Linked DNA regions of Homo sapiens: regions 2, 3, 4 and 5 are each linked to region 1. Evidence: promoter capture Hi-C in human tissues and cell types (Jung and others, 2019). All regions are on one chromosome and are shown on one strand. The core of a region is centred on a gene start or on the middle of the fragment in contact, and the rest is flanking DNA. Distances in the headings are between cores, read along the strand shown.

Region 1 (2,700 bases), core at 12-2,511:
CGGTTCCATGGGCAATAAGACCAAATGCACGCTAGAACCCACCCAACTCCAAGGGTGAGAGAGACGACAGAGGGCCAGAACACAGGCGTTCACTTAACGGGACCTCCCACCTTGGGAGGAGCCAGTCTCTAGCCCCGGAGGCATTGGGACAGCCCAGGAGCCGGTCGGCGGCAAAGTCCTCCCATTCTACCGACCCCCACCCCTCCAGGCCATGGGGAGGCTGCAAATGGAGCTGGAGAGGTCAGTCCTAGCAGCATGTGACACTTCCTTGTCATTACGCCTCAATACACGGGGGTGGGAGACCCTCCCTTCTTTCCCCCAAAGAGACAGACCACGCTTTCAAGCCACCAAAGCATCCAAGAGCCAGTCCCCATGCTCGTCTTCCCCATTTCGCCCAAGTGCTCAGCCCTAGACAGGTCCCCATCCACTTTCCCGACTGAAGAGGAAGGACTGTCCCTCCCACCCCCACAATGTCCCTTTCTCCTAGAGAGGGGACAGAAATGGGACTGGGTTGGGGGCAAACACTGCCCTTTGCCCTGATATGGAGGGGAGAGTAAAGGCCCTCCGCCCGGGAAGGTGGACCCCTGCCTCCAGGCATGTCCTAAGGCCGGGGGGCTAAGGGGGGGGTCCCAAAAGTGCGTCTCCGAGCTCCGGGGCGCCTGCACACCCAGGCGCCGCTCCTGGTGACCCCCAGTGCGCCCCTACTCCCTGCAGGGGGGTCACCCGTTGGGATCCCACTCGAGGCGCAGCGGGAGGGCCAGGCCCCCGCCTACCGCCCACGTGACCCCGCGACGGCCCCGGCCCCCCTCCGCGACCCTGCGCGCGCGCGCGCACGTGACCCCCGCCCCCTCCCCCGCCTGCGCGCGCGCGCGAGCGCGCCCCTCAGGCCCTCGGCCTCCTCACCTGGCGGGCCCGCTGCACGGCGTCGGCGAAAGCGTCCTTGCGGATTCCCGGGCCGCCTCCGCCGGGTGGCTGAGAGGGGCCCCCGGCCGACCCCCCGCCCGGGCCGCCGCCGCCGGGACCGCCGCCGCCCCGGTCCCCCGCGCCTGGCGGGCCCGGCGGAGGGCCTCCCCCGGCGCCTCCGGCTCCCCCGCCCCCGCCGGCGGGCGGCGGCGGCCCGGGCGGGGGTCCTCCCGTGCTGTAGTCCGACATGGCGCGGCGGGGCCGGGCCTGGCGCGGAGGCTGAAGCTGAGGAGGCGGCGGCGGCGGCGGCGGCTCAACGCGGGAACAAGGCCTCGCTCCACACGGCCGCGGAGCACTCTGGGAACCCAGCCGCTGGGAGGACGACGAGGGGGGAGAGAGTCGCCCCTCCCGCCGCCGACGTGACGGACGACTCCGGCGGGCCAATGGGAGGCAGCCGCCGCACCCCGGACACCAATCGCGAGCTCTGTAGGAGGTGGCCAATCGGAGTGCAATGAGGGGCAGTGGGCGGGAGGCTCAGAGTGACTGACAGCTCTCAGAGGCAATAGCTGCGAGCTGCCCGTGCTGGGCGGGCAAATGAAGGAGATCTGAGAAGGCAGGAGGCCCAATGAAACGCGAGTGCCAGATTCGCGGGGCGGCTTCAGAATTAGATTGACGGTTCTGAAGAGTCACGTGGACTGTAAGGCCGGGCCTAGTGGAAGACTCCTATGGACCGGCTGGGTGGGCGTTAGGTTTGATAGTCGTGGACACAAGCCAATGAATGCACGTGAGAGGTGGTGCTTGTAAAGATGGGCAGCCAATTAATCCAATTCCTGACGAGTTCTGGGTGATGAGGTTGGCTTTGGACTTTAATTGCTTCCCTTGTTAACCAGAATCCTTTTCTATCCCTGACTTCTAAGCCAATGGCTGAGCGACATGGGTGGGTGTTCGGTGACTGACACTGGTCTGGACAAATGGGAATGAAGGAAATCAAAGCGCCCACTTTTGGTGGGAGCCAGTGGAAGCGCCGCTGCATTGGGGCGGAGTCGGCCACCAGACAGCGAGGGGATTAGCGGGAACTGTAGTGAATGGCAGCCGACGTGGGCGGTGGCAATCGGCTGCCCGAACTCAGGCCTGATGTCTGGGTTAGCTCACCGGCAGCCTGGTTGGGTAGGCCCGGCACGTGGCCCGCTTGAAGCCTTAGAGATCGAGCGCTTCCGGAGGTGGGGAGGCCGGAAAGCAGGAAACTCGGGATCCCCCGGGCCTTCTTCTCTCTCGACCCCCCATCTAGAGCGTCCAGTTCTCTTGCAGGACTCAAGGAACCAGCCCCACTCACGAGTCCAGAACCGTTCCAACAACCGGGATCGAGGGATCACAGCCTCGATCACACCCCTCACTTCACACCCCTCACTCCCTTCGCCTAAGGCCCTGGGATCCAAGCCTCAAGCTCCTATCCTAGGTCCTCACTTCCTCTCCTGGACACAAATTCCCATTCAGGACCCAGAGGCCCAAGGTCCCCAGCTCCCCTACTGGGTCCAGGGATCTCATGCACCCAGTTCCACTCCTAGGCCCAAGTATCCAGACACGTTCAGCAAAAACCATCTCTTTATTCCTTGTTGTGTGACATGTTCACCATTTCGCCCTGGAGCCAGGACGACCCACAAGGGGCCAGACTGGAGTCCACGTTTCTTGTCTCAGGCTGCACCCTGGGGAGGGAGTCCCAGGAGTTTTCTGACCCAGCACTGCCCCCCTCCACCCACCACCAACCCCAGCTTCAGGAATCTTCTGACCCAGAGCCCC
Region 2 (2,700 bases), core at 91-2,590, 640 kb before region 1:
GCAGTGCCAAAGCTCTGGCCGTCTTGGGGGCCTTGGCCTTGCCTGCTCCCAGCAGGGCCCCCTCCTTGACCTCGGCCACCTTGAGCTCGCTGAGGCCCGGTGGGTACAGGGGCACCCCAGGTCGGGCCCCACTGCCCTGCAGCTCCTTGACGGGGAAGGCCAGGGGTTCGGGCCCAGGGAAGTGGCCGAGGTGACCCTGGAGGTGGCTGTAGGCGTCTGGGGGCAGTGTGGGCTCTGCAGGCAGCGTGATGAGTACAGGGGGCGGCTTGTTCTCCTTGGGGGGTGGGGGTGGCAGCGGGGCCGGGCCTTCCTCTAGGGGCGGTAGGGGCAGCTCCACGAAGGCGGCGGGCCCTGCGTCCCCCACAAAACCCAGAGCCTCTGGCCCGGGGCCCTCAGGCGGGAAGTAGGGCAAGAGAAACTGGGGCCCCCCGGGTGCCTGCTGGTAGTGGGGGTATGGAGGCAGCCCCGGGGCCTTGAGGTAGGGCTGAGGCTCCAGGAGGTAGCTGCCTGGGGCGGAGGGGACCCCCGCTGGCCCCCCGCTGCTTGCTGCCAGCTTATACAGGGCTGACTGGCCCAGGTCGGGGGTGGTCCACTCGATCCGATAGATGCGGGGGTCGAAGAAGCACCCGCATGGGGCCATCTGGAAACCTGTGGGCGGCAGGCGGGTGCCCTGAGAGCAGCTGCTGCCTGAGGGGCCCAGCCCAAGCCTGGGGGCCTGTTTGGGAGATGCCACAAGAACCTTGCCATTGGGGGGCCCCTTTGGGGGACGACATAGATATTGCTTTGGGGCCCTGGCTGGGTGATGGATGACACAGAGCTTGTCTTTGGGGCTCATCTGGGGGACCTGTGTGAAGCATGGGGAGCAGAGGCCATGCCTTCAGGCTCCCACTTAGGGACGGGGCAGGGGCAAGATGGGCCTGCACACTCAAACCCACTCCCAGCCTCGTCAAGGGCTCAGGGGAGGCCGGTACCTGCTGGTGGGGCTGGAAACACCTCTTTCTCTGGGTCTGGGGGATGATACAGGTTCAAGGAGCCTGTGGACAAAGGTGCCCAGGTGGGTAGGGCCCTTAGGCGGGTGGGCCCCTGAACCCTCTCCAGCAGGTGCTCCCACCCACCCGATCGTACCCATAGCGGGAGGAGGCTCGGCACAGGTGGGAGCAGGCTGGTTGCCCAGCACCTCAGCCCCCTCCAGACTCTGCGGGCTGAAACCTTCCTGGGGAGCTGCAGGGGCACAGAACGGTTTGGGGTGCTGCATGGGGCAGCGGGGGGCCCGGTCCAGACAGGCCAGGAGGGCGGCAGTGGGAGTGCAAGTGGCCCAACCGGAGAACAGGCTGAGAACCTGGTGGGGTTCTGTTTGCCTGGTTACTCGGGGCAGCGGGTTCCAGCCTGCAGCGCGCCCACTGGTTGGGGTTCTGGGTGTTGGGGGCAAGCAGGGGCAGACGTTGGCAGACATGGTCATCACCATGGGAGGGAGGATTCTGGGCCAGGCCTTTGCCTCTTCCAGCAACACCCCCCTAACAGCTTTGAGGCCGCCTCCTCCAGGCAGGCTGCCCTGATCCACACCCACACAGGCTGAGGCCCCCCGGGTCCTCAACCCGCTACCTTCTTGGGGGTCAAGGCCTCTCTGGGCACCAGCAGCACCCAGCTTGGGGCAGGGCCCATGGAGGCAGCTAAGAGGTTTGGGGAAGGTGGGGGCCGAGGAGGGGCTGCTTCAGGGTCACAGAAAGGCCTGGATTTTAAAAGAATAAAATTTATTGTACTCTCCTCGCCCCAGGGTGCCCCTGGGAAAGCCTGAGGCTACTTGTACGCGTTGGCCTTGTGCTTCGGCAAGAAGGCGAAGCTGGGGGGCACTGGCCCAAGGAGCATCTCGCTGTGGGAGAGCAGGTGGAAAGCGAGGTCAGGCCCAGGACCTGCAAAGTACCCTCCGTGACCCCGGGCCCCCGACTGCAGCTCCCCAACTCCAGCCCACCCAGGCACCTGATGCGGATCCAGTCGGCTGCCTTCTGGCTGGCCATCAGCGTCTCCAGGTAGTCGCGGCCCAGGTAGTAGGGCGGCCGCTCGTTGATCCTCTGTGGGAGCCGCTCCAGCAGCCCCACGGGCACGTACCTGCGGCGGGTGGGCGGGCAGGACAGGCTTGAGTCAGCTCTAACCAGCCGCGGCCCACGCGCCGCCCACCCCAGCCAGCCCCGGTGCCCACCGGCACAGGAAGGACAGCCACTCGAGCAGAAAGCGCCGGGTCTTCTCCACGCCCTGCGTGTCCGAGCCCCAGTGCTCCAGGCCGTAGTTGGTGAAGTCCCGCAGGATGTCCAGGCGCTCGGACGACGAGATGTCCCAGTGCCGCTGCTCCTTGATCTCCGTGAAGAGCCACGGCTTGAGCAGGGCGCCACTGTGGGACGGGTGACGATCAGTGGGCCCAGCCACCAGCCTGCCTGGGATCGTGTGGCCTCTGCTTCCATGGCCTGGCCTGAGCCGGAGCCCAGACCACAAAACCTACAAGCCTAGTAAGCCTCCCAGCTGCATGCACACAACCTTCAAAGCACAGGACTTTCTTTTGTTTTTTCTGAGACGGAGTCTGGCTCTGTCGCCCAGGCTGGGGTGCAGTGGTAAGATCTCGGCTCACTGTTCAACCTCCGTCTCCCAGGTTCAGGCAATTGTCCTGCCTCAGCCTCCCTAGTAGTTGGGATTACAGGCGTGTACCAC
Region 3 (2,700 bases), core at 193-2,692, 590 kb before region 1:
AAGCCCTCTTTTACCACCGGGAGTGGCAGAGGCAGAGAAAATCCGGGGCCAGGAAGGATGAAGGGGTGTAGGCTGCTGATGGGGTCGGGGGGCACGGGATTCTACCGCAGAGCTCTGCAAGAGAGACAGACAGACACCCACTTCCTCCTGGTTTGGCAAATCAGCCAGACCTCCCATATCCTCAGCCCACCTCGGTGCATCCAGAAAGACCCCTGCCTGCGACTAGGGGCTGCTGGCCAAATGCCAGGCCACTGCACAGCCTGCAGACCCTCCCCCAGGGATCTTGTGCCAGCCCACCCGCACTCTGAATTACAGCAGACAGGACTGAGGCTGAGGGGAGGAGGCTCGGAGCCAGGAGGCCTTTCCCTGGACCCATGCGATCCGGGTTGGGGGTGAAAGTGGGACAAGAGGCCTTACCTGGGGGGGCCAGTGTGCAGAGGGCCCTAGAGCTGAGAGGCCGCGGACGGAGTAACAGCTGGATTCTGAGGACGTGGAAGAGGCCACACCACGCAGCAGAAGGAAGGAGGAAGTGTACCCGGAGCTGAAACCAGGCCCTTTCCAACCACCACACCTGTCATCAGGTGACCCAGGGCATCCTGTCCTGGAGCCCGGACATCCTTTGAAAACAAATCGTGGGGCTCCCCTAATCCCCGTTGCAGAACCAAACAGGGTGAAGGGATTTGGAGACTCAGGTCATGCATGACCTTGCCCCACCTGTGGCTTCAATGCGATGTGGCTTTGAGTACAAAGTGAAAAGGCTGACCTGAACCACCGGTTCCCAAAGCGGGTTCCACAGGGACACCAGGGGTTCCTTGGGAGGTGGGAATGAGGAAGTGAGCAGAATTTCTACCTTTCCGCTTTCCTTCCCACCAGATCCCACCTTCTCACTCAGTTGGCCCATCACCAAATATTTCCTGAGCACTAAGTGCCAGGCCAAGGGATCTTGCAGGAAACCGGTGGGCAAGTCAGGCAACTCATGAACCTTGGAAGGGAACTTTCTTCAATTAAAATTGCAGCCTTTTGAATAAAAAAGGGATGGAAGGGCATTCCAGTTACAAGGAACAACCTTCGCAAAGGCCCTGAGGCAGCAGAAATGCAGGCATGTTGAGGAACTGCAGGAGGAGTCTCAGCAGGCTGGGTCTTCACCACTGGAGAGGAGGCAGAGCTGTTGCAGAGGCTGGGCCACGGTCAGCCATAGGGTGTTCAGCACCAAGGCAATAGGGAGCCATGTGAGGCTTCAAGCAGAGGGGTTACCATGTCGATACATGTTTTCAGATGCTCTCTTCTGGTAGGCTGGGCACAGGTCCCATATTGGTGGCAGAAGCTTCCTCCGGTGGCCTCAACAAGCCCCTCTGTGTGCCTCAAAGCCACTTCCTTTCCCCACCCACTCCTGCAGGGCAGTGCAAAGCAGAAGTCCAGGGAGCTATGCAAACTTCCTGGAATGGAGAGAAATGATCTGGAATACTGGTTTTGAGGGAGGATGACCTTAAACTCTCTCACTCCCAAGCTGGGTGCAAAGGTGACCGAGCTCAAAGCCCAGCCTCCAAGTATCACGACTGCCCTGTTCTAGAAATCATTTCTGGGAGGCTGCATCATGCTGCCTGAGTTCTACTATCTCAGTGCCCAGCCACGCCCAGACCAGTGAGGTTCTGGGAGGTAGGGATGGGCCAGGGGGTTGGGGTCTCCCAGAGCTCCAGAAGTGGCAACCTAATTCCACTCATGTCTCATTCCTTGACTGGTGAGGTTGACTGTAACTTATTAAAAAAATGACTTCTGGGGGCCGGGCGTGGTGGCTCACGCCTGTAATCCCAACACTTTGGGAGGCCGAGGTGGGCAGATCACGAGATCAGAAGATCAAGACCATCCATCCTGACTAACATGGTGAAACCCTGTCTCTACTAAAAATACAAAAAAATTAGCCAGGCGTGGTAGTGGGTGCCTGTAGTCCCAGCTACTTGGGAGGCTGAGGCAGGAGAATGGTGTGAACCCGGGAGGCGGAGCTTGCAGTGAGCCTAGATTGAGCCACTGCACTCCAGCCTGGGCGACAGTGCAAGACTCTGTCTCAAAAAAAAAAAAAAAAAAAAAAAAGACTTCTGAGGCCATGCACAGTGACTCACACCTGTAATCCCAACAGTTTGGGAAGGAGAGGCAGGAAGATCGCTTGAGCCCAGGAGTCTGAGACCAGCCTAGGGAAAACAGAGATACCCCTATCTCTCTCTTTTTTTTGAGATGGAATCTTGCTCTGTCACTCGGGCTGGAGTGCAGTGGCACAGTCTCAGTTTACTGTAACCTATGCCTCCCGGGCTCAAGCGATTCTCATGCCCCAGCCTCCCGAGTAGCTGGGACTACAGGCGCGTGACACGGCACTGGGTAACTTTCGTATTTTTTTAATAGAGCTGGTTTTCGCCATGTTAGCCAGGCTGATCTTGACCTCCTGACTTCAGGTGATCTGTCTGCCTCAGCCTCCTAAAGTACTGGGATTAGAGGCCAGGCATGAGCCACTCCGCCCAGCTGGGTTTTTTTTCTTTTTTTTTTTTGAGACAGAGTCTCGCTCTGTGGCCCAGGCTGGAGTGCAGTGGCACGATCTCGGCTCATGGCAAGCTCTGCCTCCTGGGTTCACGCCATTCTCCTGCCCCAAGTAGCTGGGACTACAGGCGTCCGCCATCACGCCCAGCTAATTTTTTTTTTTTTTTTTGTATT
Region 4 (2,700 bases), core at 101-2,600, 760 kb after region 1:
CACCTGGCCAGGTTTATTTTCATTCTGTGAGTTCCTTCTAGTAAATTATGAAACCCAAACAGTTTGTGGGAATCCCCCAATTTAGAGCCAGTTAGTCAGAAGTGTGGGTGGCTGGGGGATCCCCAAGATGCTGCCAGTGTCTGAAGCAAGGGAAATCTCATGGAGGGCTGAGCCTTAAACTTGTGGCGTCTGATGCTAACTTTGGAGGAGGATGGTGTCAGAACGGTGTTGCAAGTACACCCAGGTAGTGGCAGAACAGCTGAGGCAGAAACAAAATACTGACCAAATGTTTGACTTCTTTTATTGCCTCTATTCTTATTATGTGGCAGGCAATGCTCTAAGCCTGGAGTTGGCAAACAGTGGGCTGGGAGCCAAATCCAGTAGGCCACCTGTTTTTGCAAATAATATCCTATTGGAATATGGCCACATTTATTGGTTAGTACATCGTCTAACCCTGCTTTCACGCTGCAAAGGCAGAGTTAAGTAGCTCCAACAGAGACCATATGGCCCTGAGAGCTGAAAATATTTACTATCTGGCCCTTGGCCAACCCCCGTTCTCAGCTGCCGGTATACATGAGTGAACAAAGCAGATAATATGCTTTCCCAGTGGGAAATTATAAATGACCATGAGTTCTTTGCAGCCTCTCCCACCAAGAAGTGGAGTCTATGTTCCCACCTGTTGAATCTGGGCTTGGCCATATGGCTTGCTTTGGCCAATGGAATATTTGCAAACGTGATACAAGCTGAGGCTTGAAAAGCACTTGAACATTGAGGTCTGCCCTTCCTGGCTGCTGGGGTAAGAGACTTATGGAGAGAGACCCCCACTGACCATCAAAGACACAAGAGGCTCCCCTAAACCATCAGCCGTAGCTAAACAGGCCCAGGCCAGACAAACCTTCAGTCAACACATGAAATCATCAGAGCTCCTAAAGGAGTGTTTTAAGCCACTAAGCACTGAGGTGGTTTTGTTACGCAACAAGAGCTAGCTGATACACTCACAAAGCTTATCATCTGGTTGGGGAGAGTGAATAAATTGACAACAAAGGCTAGGTACAGTGGCTCAGGCCCTGTAATCTCAGCACTTTGGGAAGCCAAGGTGGGAGGATCACTTAAACCCAGGAGTTCAAGACGAGCCTGGGGAATATAGCAAGACCCCCAACACTACAGAATTTTTTTTTAGCCAGGTGTGGTGGTGTGTGCCTATATAGTCCCAGCTACTCAGGAGGCTGTGGCAGGAGGATCTCTTGAGCCCAGGGGGTTGAGACCACAGTGAGCCATGTGGGTGCCACTGCACTCTAGCCTGGGTGACAGACCAAGACCTTGTCTCAAAAAAAAAAAAAAAAGACAAAAATATCAGCTAGTGACAAATCGAAGAGTTAAAACTAAATGATGTGACAGAGAGTGCACGGATGATTGACTCAGACGGGAAGGATTTGCCAAGGAGGTGACTTTTAAGCTGCCATCTAGATGACGAGGGGAAAAAGTGGATCATTCTCAAATGCAGGGACAAGCATTATAGGAAGAGGGAACAGCTAATTGAAAGGCACAGAGGAAAGCGGATGTAGCAAGTTGCAGGAAAAGCTCCTGCGGTAACGACCACCACGGCCAGGGGGCACCGGAATGAAATGAGAATGAGAACTGGCCGAGCCCTCCCGATGAGGAGTTTGGATTCTGTCCATTGGTCTTGGGAAGCCACCGGAGGGTTTTAGGGAAGGACATGGCATATGATCAGATGACCACTTTTATTTTTTCTTTTGAGACAGAGTCTCACTCTGTCACCGAGACTGCAGTGCAGTGGCACACTCTCGGCTCACTGCGACCTCCACCTCCCGGGTTCAAGCAATTCTGCTGTCTCAGCCTCCCGAGTAGCTGGGATTACAGGCGCCCACTGTAATCCCACGCCTGGCTAATTTTTGTATTTTTAGTAGAGATGGGGTTTCACCATGTTGGTCAGGCTGGTCTCGAACTCCTGACCTCAGGTGATCCACCCACCTCGGCCTCCCAAAGTGCTGGGGTTATAGGCGTGAGCCACCGCGCCTGGCCCAGGTGGCCACTTTTTACCAGTGTCACTAGAATGGAAGCAGGAGCAAAGAGATTGTTCAAGGGGACTGGGTCAGACCAGACATGATGGTGAAATAGATGGAGGTGTAGACAAATTTGAGACCTCAGCTTAATAGGAAGAAGTGAGAGAGGCCAAGAAGAATCAAGGATTTTAGGTAATTCTCCCCTTCCCAGTGGATACCCCATACGCATTGAAAATTTATTCATCACAAATATCTGGTCCTTCTCATCTCAGGAAGCAGCACTGTGCTATTACATCCCAGCAGGTACTTTGGAACGACAGTAGATGGTGAGACCTTTTTTTTTTTTTTTTTGGAGATGCAGTTTCACTCTTGTCACACTTGCCTGGGGGCTAACGTGCAATGGCGTGATCTCAGCTCACTGCAACCTCTGCCTCCTGGGTTCAAGCAATTCTCATGCCTCAGCCTCCCGAGTAGCTGGGATAACAGGTATGCATCACCATGCCCAGCTAATTTTTTTTTTGTTTTTGTATTTTTAGTAAAGACGGGGTTTCACCGTGGTGGCCAGGCTGACCTTGAACTCCTGCCCTCAGATGATCCGTCCACTTCGGCCTCCCAAAGTGCTGGGATTACAGGCATAAGCCACTGTGCCTGGCCAAGGCCTTTTAACATGGGTTCC
Region 5 (2,700 bases), core at 87-2,586, 630 kb after region 1:
CTCCTAACCCATCCCCAACAGGACACCGGGATCCCAGACTTCCCTGTTCACCAAGACCTCACGCTTCTCTGTATCTCTTTCTGCTGTGCTTCAGGACACAACGTCATTTTCATAGCTCCTTGACTCTCTGGTTTCCAAAGAAATCCTGCACTCGCCACCTTAAATACTCACTGCCACACCCAGATCCCACCTTCACCTGAACACCTCCTGCTCATGAAGAAAAACCTCAGAAACACCATGTTGCTTTCTGTTTCTAATAAGCTCAATTAACTAGAGGTATACCATGAGAGAATCTTTTGATGACATACTGAGAAAGATGATCAAGCGCCTCCTAAGATTTGACGTCCTTTCTTGCTCTAACTCAATTGGAAGACTCTAGTCTCATAAAGCTGTTTCCCCCACAAACCTCATCAGTGCACTTTCCATTTTAAAGCCTTTGTTTCTGTCCTCCTCATTTCATTTTTCGTTGTCCTGGCATAAAGATTAATACTACCCCTTACAGTACCCCTGGCATAAAGATTAATACTGACCCAAGATGTTCCCCTTTGGAGGGAAAATTATTTAGTCCCCTTAGTTACGGGGCACTTATGATGTGCCAAGCTGTGCAGTAGAACCCCTGATCCAGAAGTAAACTTCATAAATCACCACTCTGTTGATTTTCATCTTGGTGAGAAGGAAGACATAATAAACGCACTAAAAACAAATTTCTGGTGGAATATCAGATATAAGTAAGTTCCATGATGAAGAAGAAGGGAGTGACAGAGAGGGATGGAAGGAGGAGAAACAGAGAAACAGAAAAGAAATTCACTACAATGAATCGTGACAGTGAGTTTAGGGAATAAGCAACTCATCATGAAATTTTACCAGAGAACTAATTTTTTTTGTTTTTTGTTTTTTTAAAAAAACGGACCAAGCAATTTCTGGTTCAGGAGCTTTCCAGAGAAGGAGACAATTTGAAGACTGCAAGGCCAAATCATACTTCTTCCCTTTCCTAGTGATGTTGGATTTTTAAAAAAAAATTCAAAGCTATTATCCCCATACAGTTTCATGGGCAAAAATGAGAATACTTTGAACATTATTCAACAGATATTACCACCTGAGGTATAACTTTCCACAACATCCAGTTTTAAGAACAACCCACTGCTAACTGTAAAGCTGTCTTACAGAAGGAAAAAGGACACATATGGACATTCCTGTAATCAATAAATATCCCGTACTCACCAGAACAGGTGGGCTCGGAAAAGAGGTGAACGCAGGCTCTCCCATAGCCGTAGAGTTTCTCTTGCTGACCCCACTCTTGAGATGCAGACAACCCTTGGCTTGCCGGAAAATGCAGTGACTTCTGCATCTGGTTCCCCTTTTTATAGAGAAAGCGAGTGATAATGCAATCAGTGGATAATCCACAGGGAACACCCTGTCTCCGCCCATTGGATTTGAGGCATTTCTAAATCTTTATACAGAAACCAATGTGGTGTTACCTACACAGAGTGTTAGTAGAGAAAGAATTGAATACGTGTGTATGTGTGTGTGGCGGGGTGGTATTTACAGTTAATATCAGCATTTTAGATATGTTTCCCTTTTTCTCCCAGTTTTCCAAACATCTTTGAATACTTTCTATAGAAATAGGAATGGAATTGTCTATGTACATAAATGTTCACGTAATATTTGATTTAATAACAACAACTAAAGACCATTTAAATGTTCTTTAAGAAAAGAAAGCCCAAAACTTTTATTCACAATCCTATAGAATATATCACACAGTTGTTGCAAAGAAATTACTACTTTGGCCGGGAGAGGTGGCTTACGCCTATAATCCCAGCACTTTGGGAGACCAAGGCAGGTAGATCACCTGAGGTCAAGAGTTCGAGACCAGCCTGGCCAACATGGTGAAACCCCATTTCTACTAAAAATACAAAACTTACCCTGGTGTGGTGGCATGCACCTGTAATCCCAGCTACTCGGGAGGCTGAGGCAGGAGAATCGCTTGAACCTGGGAGGGAGAGGTTGCGGTGAGCCGAGATCGCACCACTGCAGCTCAGCATGGGCGACAGAGTGAGACTCCATCTCAAAAAAAAAAAAAAAAAAAAGTTCTATTTCGTGCATTTACATTTAATATAATTACCAGTAAATTTGAAATTGTTTCAATCATCTCATTTTTCCTAGGTTTTGACTTAACTGACTCACGTTCCTTTTGCCTTTACTTGACTGACTTTGAATTAAATATGTTTATTATTTTATTGTTATCTCCATGAACTTGCTAGTTACAGCCATACAAATCTGTGTAGTTATGCTAATAATTAAATCATATACTCTGATACAATTAATTACTTTAACCCCTCCCACAAAATGCTAATACTTTAGAACACTTTTAATTCTCTTTTTAGCTGTTTCTGACTTTTGTATTACCATTCTCATGCATATTAATTCTACACATATTTTACTCTCCAGGAGACATTTCTAGTATTGCTTCATAAAGCAATATGCACTAATATTTACCTACAGCTTATCTTGTGCATTCATCTTTGTTCCTTTCTGCATTTCTAGCATTCAATCTGGGATTATTTCCCTGTGGACTTGAGAATTCATTCTAGTATTTTTCTTCTAATTCAATGCTGCTAACAACTAATTGTTTTCCTTTACACTTTTATTTAGGCATCTTTATTTGGGGGCAATATTGCTGTCAGGTACGGGTGTCTGGTT

The links. Contacts are between HindIII fragments. The study calls those that stand out against the background at their distance.
Region 2: a contact is called between the fragment with the promoter of PRR22 here and the fragment with the promoter of KHSRP in region 1, in 1 of the 25 tissues and cell types used here (dorsolateral prefrontal cortex).
Region 3: a contact is called between the fragment with the promoter of FUT6 here and the fragment with the promoter of KHSRP in region 1, in 1 of the 25 tissues and cell types used here (neural progenitor cells).
Region 4: a contact is called between a fragment that was not itself captured here and the fragment with the promoter of KHSRP in region 1, in 1 of the 25 tissues and cell types used here (spleen).
Region 5: a contact is called between the fragment with the promoter of MBD3L3 here and the fragment with the promoter of KHSRP in region 1, in 1 of the 25 tissues and cell types used here (mesendoderm cells).

Annotation. Positions count from the first base shown.
Region 1 is chr19:6,423,550-6,426,249 of GRCh38, forward strand. KHSRP (KH-type splicing regulatory protein) reads right to left here and starts at 1,262. Exons shown (of 19, transcript NM_001366299.1): 1 at 904-1,262. The coding sequence starts at 1,152. SLC25A41 (solute carrier family 25 member 41) reads right to left here. Exons shown (of 7, transcript NM_173637.4): 7 at 2,488-2,700. RefSeq lists an enhancer at 1,570-1,689. The HindIII fragment of the contact is 26,210 bases long and covers 1-2,700 here.
Region 2 is chr19:5,783,406-5,786,105 of GRCh38, forward strand. It overlaps PRR22 (proline rich 22), which reads right to left and starts at 1,341. Exons shown (of 3, transcript NM_001134316.2): 1 at 1,126-1,341; 2 at 972-1,034; 3 at 1-648. The coding sequence starts at 1,255. It overlaps DUS3L (dihydrouridine synthase 3 like), which reads right to left. Exons shown (of 13, transcript NM_020175.3): 11 at 2,198-2,386; 12 at 1,978-2,106; 13 at 1,735-1,870. The coding sequence ends at 1,798. The HindIII fragment of the contact is 36,623 bases long and covers 1-2,700 here.
Region 3 is chr19:5,838,260-5,840,959 of GRCh38, forward strand. It overlaps FUT6 (fucosyltransferase 6), which reads right to left and starts at 1,443. Exons shown (of 3, transcript NM_000150.4): 1 at 418-1,443. The HindIII fragment of the contact is 16,612 bases long and covers 1-2,700 here.
Region 4 is chr19:7,179,203-7,181,902 of GRCh38, forward strand. All of the region lies in intron 3 of INSR (insulin receptor), which reads right to left. Among named protein-coding and RNA genes, the nearest start is that of ZNF557, 110 kb to the left of the region's middle. RefSeq lists an enhancer at 1-92. The HindIII fragment of the contact is 3,478 bases long and covers 1-2,700 here.
Region 5 is chr19:7,057,340-7,060,039 of GRCh38, forward strand. MBD3L3 (methyl-CpG binding domain protein 3 like 3) reads right to left here and starts at 1,337. Exons shown (of 2, transcript NM_001164425.4): 1 at 1,222-1,337. The coding sequence starts at 1,266. The HindIII fragment of the contact is 21,543 bases long and covers 1-2,700 here.